Regions from separate parts of the Homo sapiens genome. Here region 1 is linked to region 2. The links are contacts of gene promoters, found by promoter capture Hi-C in human tissues and cell types (Jung and others, 2019). All regions are on one chromosome and are shown on one strand. The core of a region is centred on a gene start or on the middle of the fragment in contact, and the rest is flanking DNA. Distances in the headings are between cores, read along the strand shown.

What was found. Contacts are between HindIII fragments. The study calls those that stand out against the background at their distance.
Region 1: a fragment that was not itself captured here is called in contact with the fragment with the promoter of IL6R in region 2 in 2 of the 25 tissues and cell types used here (dorsolateral prefrontal cortex and spleen).

The regions. Positions count from the first base shown.
Region 1 is chr1:154,603,239-154,608,283 of GRCh38, reverse strand. It overlaps ADAR (adenosine deaminase RNA specific), which reads left to right and starts at 98. Exons shown (of 15, transcript NM_001111.5): 1 at 98-292. The coding sequence starts at 278. RefSeq lists an enhancer at 1-214 and a silencer at 215-324. The HindIII fragment of the contact is 4,982 bases long and covers 1-3,959 here.
Region 2 is chr1:154,401,756-154,406,951 of GRCh38, reverse strand. It overlaps IL6R (interleukin 6 receptor), which reads right to left and starts at 1,609. Exons shown (of 10, transcript NM_000565.4): 1 at 1,238-1,609. The coding sequence starts at 1,322. IL6R-AS1 (IL6R antisense RNA 1) reads left to right here and starts at 388. Exons shown (of 2, transcript NR_147855.1): 1 at 388-513; 2 at 2,995-4,631. RefSeq lists an enhancer at 479-1,085 and silencers at 1,325-1,474, 1,675-1,804. The HindIII fragment of the contact is 9,903 bases long and covers 1-5,196 here.

The DNA.
Region 1 (5,045 bases), core at 219-2,718, 200 kb before region 2:
GGCCTGAAACCAAGCGTGGCGCAAGATTTGCTCAAGCCCCTCCTCTTGGCCAAACTTTCCGGAGGGGAAGGCTTTCCGAGGAAACGAAAGCGAAATTGAACCGGAGCCATCTTGGGCCCGGCGCGCAGACCCGCGGAGTTTCCCGTGCCGACGCCCCGGGGCCACTTCCAGTGCGGAGTAGCGGAGGCGTGGGGGCCTCGAGGGGCTGGCGCGGCCCAGCGGTCGGGCCAGGGTCGTGCCGCCGGCGGGTCGGGCCGGGCAATGCCTCGCGGGCGCAATGAATCCGCGGCAGGTAAGCCGGGCCGGCCTTGGACCTTCGCCGCCGTCTGGGTTCGTTTACAACCTCACAGGCTTTGTGTTGCAGTGCGTAGCGTGTGCGTCTTGTGAGTGTTAGAGTGTGTGTGTGTGTGTCGTCTTGCCAAGCAGCATTGCTGGTTTAGGAATTTGTGCGTCTTGTGAGTGTGTGTGTGTGGGTGTGTGTCGTCTTGCCAAGCAGCATTGCTGGTTTAGGAATTTGTGCGTCTTGTGAGAGTGTGTGTGTGTGTGTGTGCGTGTGTGTGTAGTCTTGCCAAGCAGCATTGCTGGTTTAGGAATTTGTGAATTTGTATCCTGCTCATTAATTCTGCAGAATGGAGCAGTGCGTGAAGAGGGCTTGGGGGAAAATGCGCCCCCGTCTGAGTAGGAAGGCCTGAGCCCATGTCAAGGCAGACACATCGTCTCCCTTTCTGCTAGGGCCCCTTGTGGAACCCCCTACCCCCGCTTTAGCCCCACTTGAACAACGTTCGGACTTTGAGCAGCGCACACTATCCTCAGCTCACCTTATCCACCTCCTGAAGGCCTTCTGGGAGTTAAAAATGGCACTTAAGCTGTAGGAGAAAGCTTGTTAACCACTTTATAGCTAAAAACTGGGAAAACACAAATGGCCTTCAGCAGGTTAACAGATAAACTGAAATACATCCACATAATGGGATACTGCTTAGTAGTGAAGAGGAAATACTGTTACAAGTAACAACACGGGTGACTCGCAAGTGCGTTATGCTAAGCACGAGAAGCCAGACTCAAAAGGCTGCATACTGTATGAGTCCATTTATATGACATTCTGGAAAAAAAAAACCACAGTTATAGGGATGGAAAGTGGATCCGTGGGTGCCAGGGACTGGGTATCGTGGAAGAAATTGATTGTTGAGTGGCATGAAAAAGCTTTTTAGGGAAATAGAAATGTTCTATATCTTGATTGTGGTGGCGATTGTCGAAATTCATAGATTTATACACTTAAAAGGATAAATTTTACTGTATCTAAATTATATACCTCAATTTTGTTAAGATATATATATATTTTTTTTTTTTTAAGCACTCCTTTGAAAGGATTAAGGACGCCTAACTTGAAGGAAAAGCATTTCTGCACAGGTGTCAGTGTATTGCACTGTGGAACCTGTGTGGTAAAGGCAAAGGGGGTAGTGCTTATCTCTTGATCCTAAATATGTGAGACCAGATTAAAGTGAAATCTGGGAGGCAATGAATGTTAAATGAGTTGTTATGTAATTTGCATAGAGGTGATGCTGAGAGATTTAGAAAGGATCACTGTGGGTTGCTTGCTCACTTTCTTGCTCTCCTATTCCGTAGCTTTCCAAATGGCTGTACTCAACGGTGGCTTGGTGTTTAGGGGATTTAAGGGGGGCAAAAAGAAAGATTAATAATCTCCTCCTCTCCCTCTAACCCTACTGCCCTAAGATATCCTTAGCAAACTTACATCTCCTTTCTTTTCTCTGTGTTCATTCCATTGTGCGCACACATACACATTCATGGATTTTCTCTTTTTGTTTAGGGAAAAAAATTATAATGTACATACTATTCTACAACTTTTTGTTGTTTTATTGAACATTATATGATTCCTAAATTATCCCCAGGTGAATACAAATAGATATGACACATTTTAAAAAAATAAAATAACTGGCCGGGCGTGGTAGCTCATGCCTGTAATCCCAGCACTTTGGGAGGCCGAGGAGGGCGGATCAGGAGATCGACACCATCCTGGCCAGCATGGTGAAACCCCATCTCTACTAAAAATACAAAAATTAGCTGGGTGTGGTGGCGTGCGCCTGTAATCCCAGCTACTCCGGAGGCTGAGGCAGGAGAATCACTTGAACCCGGGAGGCGGAGATTGCAGTGAGCTGAGATCACACTGCACTCCAGCCTGATTGCAGTGAGCCGAGATCATGCCACTGCACTCCAGCTTGGCAACAGAGCGAGACTCCGTCTCACAAGAAAAAAAATAACCGTGTGAGTACTATTCCATAGAATGAATGTTTCATAATTTAATTCTTCTATAGACAGACATTAAAATATTTTCCAGATTTGGGCCAAGAGTAGCAGTTTAAAAAACATTTAGCTTTTAACTGACTCTAGCCACTTTGAAACACAATTTTTTTTTCCCAAGGTCACTCAAAGAGCTAATAGGAGAACCCCTAAGTCCCATAATTCAGCTCTGGGAGCCAGCACTCACTCTGTACACACATTTGCCTCTGTCCCTAGCAATATGGTGGGCGTGAGGGTGCAGCAAGAGGAACAAGAAAGAAATGATTGCTTGCATAGTGGCGTCTTGTTCATGCAGTCATTAATTCAACAAATGTTTGTTGAGAATCAGCTTTGTGCCAAGTGCTAGAGAGGTTGAGATGATTGAAGCATAGTCCTTGACCCCCAAGAGCTCACCATGGAATCAACTGAAGCCCCTCATCAGTACTGTGTTGGGAATATTGAGAGTGGAGAGTTGAGTATAACTTATAGGACACCTAATGTTAATTACCTTTCAGACACTGCAATGTGTGTGTGCCATAAAAAAAAAAAAAATCCAGTAGCTCTGATACGAGGGAAAGTAAATGGTTTAACAGGTGCTGAGTAGGAGAAGCTCAAGGAGAGGAAACCCCAAGGGCTGAAGAAGGTGGGAGTCAGGAGTCTCCTGAAGCAAGTGGCATTTAAGGAGCTCTATAAGGAAAGGGTCAGAGTTGTGATAGGTGGCTGTGGAGGGAGATGTGCCACCTGGATTGGCATGTAGAGGGATAGAAAGATTATAGGCCTTTGCAATGGCCCAGTAAGAGGTAATGAGGGGCTGGAACTGGAAGAAAACACATTTAAGACACAGTACAGAGGTGGCAGACAAGGTGGGACTTGGCAACTACCTGATGAGATCCAGGAGATGAGGCCAGGAGGCGGGCAGCAAAGATGACGCAGGTTTCTAGCCTTAATAGGCTAGGAGGAGAGTGATGCCATTAGCAATAAGAACTACAGGAGAAGGAGCTGAGTTTGAGGGAACTATTAATTTGGTTCAGAATATGTGCTGTTTGAGTTATGGCAGGATATTTAAGTGGACAGACTGTCGACATAGTTGGAAATTCAGATCTTAAGCTCCCACACAAGGTAGTGGCTGGACATAGTAGATTTGAGTGCTCTTGCTTCAGAGGGCTAGTTTAGGTTGGGGCAGTGATTAAAGCAACCTAGGAAATAAATTATAAAGGAAGAAGAGGTCCTTAAAACCTTGGAGACTGATTATATAAAGGGTGGATCCGTTAATACAGTAGCTATTAAAAAATTATAAGGGGTGGGAAAAAGGGACAAAGAAGAAAAAAGAGGTGAAAGACCTTTGCTGTGTCACCAAACCCTGGGAGGAGAATTTTTTAAAAGAAGAGTACTCAATCCACAGTGAACTAAGGCATGTTTGTTAAACACAATTGACCACCACACAGCGAAGACCCAAATGAGGTTCAAGAGAAGGAATTTTTATGGACCCTGTTAGCACAAGTCAAGGTCCTTCTCCAGTACCACTGGGAAGCTTTGGAGAAGAAAAGGGGGACAGTGGGCCTTGGGTGGAGAAGGGAACTGACCATGAGATCCAGGTGGGGTGAGGAGGTGTGTGAAGTCAGAGTGGGGAAGAATCAGGGTGGCTTACTGGCAGCTTCACCGGGGTCATGCGAGGAGCAGGTTCCACCAGAGTAAGGAGTGAAGTTGTAGAAACACAGGGAAGTCACCATCAGAAAAGAGCAGGAGTCAAGAAACTATGGCCCACAGGTACAAACTACCTGTTTTTATAAATAAAGCTTCATGGTAAATGAATTGTAAATAAAGTTTTGCATATTGTGTGAGGCTGTTTTTGTGCTACAGTGGCAGAGCTGTCTGGCCCTTTATAGAAAAAGTTTATCAGCCACTGGAAAAGAGTTGCAGGATTTGAGGTCTTGGTGTGATGGCCTAGGTTAGAGTCATAGTGAGATTGAAGGAGTAGCTAGACAAGCCAATTGTGTGGCAGAAAGGTAGGGATGGAGATCACTGGGTTAAGGATCCTTGTAGCCAGGACACCATGAGAGTGATTGACAAGAATGCTGAAATCCCCTAAGTGTGTCAGGATGTGGAAGAGTAGAAGGCTAGAGTTATGGAAGAAAGGGTCCCACCTCTACCTGTGCAGCCTCCAGGAGAGTCTGAGGAGGGGGCGGTGAGTGTGAGTAAATGTTGTCAGAATCCCTCCTCCCAGTCTACAAGCCCCAGGGAAAGGAAGCAAGGTGTTTACTGACACCCCCAGGCTTATAAGTACTTCCTGGCTCCATCACCCTCCAGTGAACAGCCCTGGGGAGAAGACAGTACTGGTTTGCAGGTGGGTGGGTGGGGAAAGGGGTCACAGGTGCTTGGTGTTCTGGTAAATGTGCATATGAGAACATGGGGTTGCTTGTGCCCTGTCCGTCAGGGTTCAGAAGAACGTGCAGTGGAAGCAGCTATGGGGAAGTAGCTAGGGAAGGTAGGACTGGTCTGAGGTGGTGAGGAGCAGATGCTGCCAGCTCCACACATCCAGGAGAGCCTGGGTGGTTTGGGCAAAAGTCTCTGGCATCCCTTCTGAGCCTGGGTACCACACTGAAGAGTGAGGACAGTGTGCCATTTTTATCAGGAAACCCTCCAGCTCCCTGAAGACCAAATTCTGATCCTCCTGGGATGGCAGTGAAGAGCCACAGAGATGACTCTGAGGTCCCGTGGCCTTTTCCCACCTGGAGATTGTTTTCGTTACT
Region 2 (5,196 bases), core at 360-2,859:
CCTCAGTCTCCTCTTTCAAACAAAGTTATATGTAGATACAGTGGAGGATTAGAAAACATTGAATGGGTGCCCCAATCAACAGTGTCTGTTACTGGCAGGAGTTATAAATGTGTATTGAAAATGGAATCCCTTCTTTTTTTCTTCCAATCATAAGGACCACAACCATCCAAAAAGCAAAGAGAGCCTCAGACACTCCAGCTCAGCCTCTAGTTGCAGAAAGTCACCTCCTCAAAGGGAGAGATCAGTGTTCACCTAGGACTGGAATTCAGTGTGATCTAGTGGTTGAAAGTCTTAGCCTTCAGCCTCCCCAGCCTGTCAGCTGTTCCAGAAGCCTGTCAGCTGCCCCTTAGTTTTCTGCTGTGTCCTCAAAGAAGCACTGGGACCCTAAAATAAACCTCTGGAGAGCCAGTTGCCCAACTCTTCCAGAAGAGAGACTAGACACGCAGCTGGGCATGCGGCCAGAGCCCAAGAAAAGCCTGGTTTGCCAGGGGCAGATTACAGTCAACGGGAGCAGTAAGTGCCTCTGCCCTCTCCCTCACGGGTCCTTCTCTTTTCTAGAGGGGAGTCCAGCACGTGCCAGCCCCAGGAGGTCTCACTCCCTTGCCAGCCTCCCGACTCAATTCCCAGGACTGGGGCACTTGGCTTCCCAGAGTTGGTGGCTGCCAAAGTGACTCCGTGCAGCGGGAAGATCCGTGACTCAGCGCCCGTGATGTCAGTCCCTTCATAGTCAGGGCACTGTCATCCACACATGCACCCGCGGGGGTGGGGGGAGGACCAGGCGAGGTGGACCCCCAATGCAGAGGGAGAAGAGGGGCGCTGGTACAAAGGACTCCCCAGGCGGGTACATCACCCCGCTGGGGCGCGCCCTCTCGGGCAGTCTCCCCTTAGAGTAACCTGGGACGCGGTTGTGTAAAGGCTCCTGGGGGCACTGGGAAGGAAGCTCGAGAGTCAGGTTTGCAAGGACACAGTCCTGTACACAGACCGCAGGGTTCCCGCACAGCTTCACCGGGCATTCCGGGGAGCGCTCCGGACCAAGGGAGCAAGCGCAGCAGGGGGCGCAAGAGCCACTACCCGCGACCACACAGCTAGGTACCCGCGGGGCCTCAAGGCAGCCACAGAAAAGGGGATCCGTCGCACCTCCTTTCCTCCCTCCAGCCTCCCACAGACTGCGGTGACCAAGGCGGTTTCCCCCAGCCGCTAGCTGCCCCAGCCCTCCAGGTGCGCCCGAAGCCCTTACCCTGCGCAGGGCAGCGCCTTGGGGCCAGCGCCGCTCCCGGCGCGGCCAGCAGGGCAGCCAGCAGCGCGCAGCCGACGGCCAGCATGCTTCCTCCTCGGCTACCACTCCATGGTCCCGCAGAGGCGGACAGGCTAATGGGAACCGGGCGGCAGGGGTGGCAGGGGCGGGGCGGGGCGGTGGGCGGGCAGGCGGGCTCAGGCCCCGGGGGCAGCCCCCATCCGCAGGAGCCCGGCTCTCTACACACACTGCGAGTCCCTCGGCCCCGCGCCGCGCTCGGCTCCTCTCCCTCTGGCCCGGCTCAGTGTCAGTGCGACTTCCCACTCGCACATGACTCAGAGCGGCGGACGGTCCTGGCAACGCAGGAAAACATTTGAGGAACTCGCGCTGGAGCGTCTCTGGGCCGTCCCAGGGTGCGGTTACGAAAGCCGGAGCGGATGGCGCAACAGCCCCGCGCACCGGCCGACCGAGGGGGTGGCTTCCTGCCACAGCGCCGCACCTGAGCGGGGAGAACAGGGGACCGCCAGCCCCACCAGAGCCCTTCCTCCCGGTTCTGTTGATGAGAAAAGGGCGTATCAGCCACCAGTGGGCAGTGGCCTAGTTTTGATTTTTGGTTTCGTGAACGGGATTACGCTGTGAAAGGCACACCTGGAGAGCCCTCGAGGAGGCGATGTTCCTCTTACCCTTAGGGTAAAACAGTGCTTGGTAGCCCGGTTGCCCACTGGAATCAGCCAGGAGCCCTAAAACCCACCAATGTCTGGGTCGGGTCTCCAGAGATTCTGATTTCATCGGTCTGGGGTGAGGCTTGGGCATCGGAAGACTCACCACCGTAAAGGCACAGTCTTTCTGCCCAGCTGCTCCTCGCAGGCTGCAGCAGAGGCAAGGAAACGGTTTGGACTTTGCAGTCAGATAGACCTGGGTCCCCATTTAGACCTACCATCTACTGTGTCTGTGACTTCGGTTCAGAATCTGAGTCTCCATTTCCTCATCTGTCAGAGATAAGAAAGCCTATGCTGCCCAGGGTTATTAGGAAGGTTCTGTGGATGGCACCTAAACACCTGACACACGGTCTGGGCCACACGTGCTCAGTAGACATCAGAACGTTCATGGCTGCCCTCCTGACTTGACAGACAGACACTAACACCAGGGGCAGTGGCTCACGCCTGTAACCCCAACACTTTGGGAGAGCCGGGTGGGTGGATTGCTTCAGTCCAGGAATTCTAGACCAGCCTGTGTAACAAAGTGAGACCCCCATTTCTATAAAAAAATTTAAAAATTAGCTGGGTGTGGTGGTACACACCTATAGTCCCAGCTACTAGGGAAGCTGAGGTGGGAAAATTGCTTGAGTCCGGGAGATCCAGGGTACAGTGAGCCGTGATTGGGGGCTGCTACTCCAGCCTGGATGACAGTGAGACCCTGTCTGGAAAGAAAAAAAAAAAAAGAAAAGAAAGAAAGAAAAGGAAGGGAGGAGGGAGGGAGGGAGGGAAGGAGGGATAGAGGGGAAGGAAGGAAAGGAAGGAGAGAAAAAAAGAAAGAAACAAGCACCTGGCTTTTGAGCAACCACAAGGACCTTGAAGGGGACCATCTGTCCGTCCCTTGGAGGGGAACTCTCTCAAGGACCCCCACAGAGCCTAAAGCTGATAGGATGGCCTCATAGCTGAATCTGGAGGGAAAGAAAAATGCTGAAATAAAGTTTAGGCTGAGAAGCTTCTAGACCAGCAACTGCTCATTAGAATGTGTTTTTCTACCTTTGGTTTCAGGCCAATCCTAACCCAGATCAAAGATCCTGGGACAGCTGGAACAGGCATGGCCTAATGGAACTCCCAAGTGGACAGGGCCAGGCATGGACGGACAGAGCTTCTGAAACAGTCCTCAGACCCCGTGCATCTGGATCTTTCTGTAGGAACCACCCATCAGCAGTGCCAGACAGAACCAAGCACATGCACTGATCCACCGCACGATGGGAGCTGGTGTGGGTGAGCTTGTTTGCTTTAGCCATGCCCACAGACAGGAACAGAAGAGCACAGTGGAGGCCACCAGCCCTCTCGCCTGCTATTTCAAAAGGGGTTGCAGCAGGGCTGGAAAGCGGTTCCCACTGTGGTTGCCCCCTTCCTCTCTGTGGCACACACAGACCTGAAAATAACCAGAGAGGGACTGTGAGCTGCCAGCCTAAAACAGGAAGGCTGCAGAAAGTCCTAGGCTCAGATAGGAGAGTTTAAAAGAATGTTGAAACCAAGAACGGGCATCACAGATCCCACCTGTCTCTGCACCAAAGCAGACCTCCCCCTCTCTAATCTACTGGTGGGGAGCCTGTGTGCTCTGTAGTCATGCAGATCCCAGCTTTACCACTTGCTGGCTGTGTGACTTAAGCAAGCTATTTAACTTCTCTGAACCCCTATTTCCTGATTTGTAAGATAAGCGCAGCAATATACAAAGTTTTAGTGTTGTGGTTCACATGAAAAAATTTAATCCTGGCCAGGCCGGACGTGGTGCCTCACACCTGTAATTCCAGCACTTTGGGAGGCCAAGGTGGGCAGATCATGAGGTCAGGAGTTCGAGACCAGCCTGACCAACATGGTAAAACCACATCTCTACTAAAAATACAAAAATTAGCCGGGCATGGTGGTGCGTACCGGTAGTCCCAGCTACTCAGGAGGCTGAGGCAGGAGAATCACTTGAACCCAGGAGGCGGAGGTTGCAGTGAACCGAGATGGCACCACTGCACTCCAGCCTGGGCAAGAAGAACGAAACTCCCTCTCAAAAAAAAGAAAAGAAAAAGAAAAAAGAAAGAGAAGAAAGCATACCTGCACAATTCAGCCTGACCTGCCCTCACCCAGACAACAGAAGGAACAATGAAGACTTTAGTTGTCTGAGCCAGAACACTTCTCAGATAACTGTGCTGCTTACAAATTGCTTTACATACACAATCTCCTCTGAAATTCTCAACCCTGAATGCTGGGAGACATTGCCCCCAATTTTCAGATGAGTAGACTGAGGCTAACAGAGGTAAAGTGGCTTGTTCAAAACTGCACTACTAGTAACTGGCAGCTCCAGGGTGAGGTCTGGCTCCTGGCCCAGGACTCTCACTGAGCAAGGGCTCGGTCGGCCCACCCAGGACCAAAGACACTGCAGACCATGGCAGCAGGCACTTGGTGTTCTGTAGTCTGTGAGGGGAGAGCAGAGAGCAGAACCTGGTGTGTGGGACACCCTCTCCTTCACCGGTGTTCCTGCAGGGACCCTCCGTCTCCTGTAAAGGGGGAAGCCCTAGGCTGACTCCCAGCAAGCAAGTCCTCTCTCACCTTTCACCTGAAGCGATGAAGCATCTTAAAGTTTGCCTAAAGCAGAAGTCTACAGGAGACCCACAGAATAAATATGTAAGGTTATTTTGAAACCAAAAGGGACTTGGTCATCATTGCTTCTCCTCCCTCACTTTTTAGATAAGGAGCTAGGCCTCAAGAAGAGAAGTTGCTTGGTAAAGATGGCACAGGCAGTGGTGACAGAGCTGGTCAAGATCCCAGATACCCTGACTCAAAGTGGTCTTTTTAAATTCCCACCCTGCCCCCAACCTCCAGGTCTGGGCTGATGTGTTGGGGCCATTCTCAACTGTGAGAGTTTAAAACTATGCACTTTATTCTCTATTCACCATGTGAATCCATCTTTAGGGACAACGATTATTCTGAGAAGTGCAGTGGGGTAGGGCTGAACTGACCTGCAGACCCCTCCCTGGCCTCTGGCCCTGGAGCCAGCCCCTGGTTAATCAATAATTACAGGAAGGTGCTTCTTATTCTCTGAAACCTTCCCCTCCTGCTTTCTCATCAGCCTGGGAGGAGGTTACGTGGGCAGACAGAGGTCTAATAACAGAACTCAGTGTCTGGCCAGTGGCATCCCTCAGAGTCAGGCCCCAGCCAGGGCCCACTGAGGGCCTCAGCCTGCCTGTGGAGACCCTCGCTTTCACAGTGGAG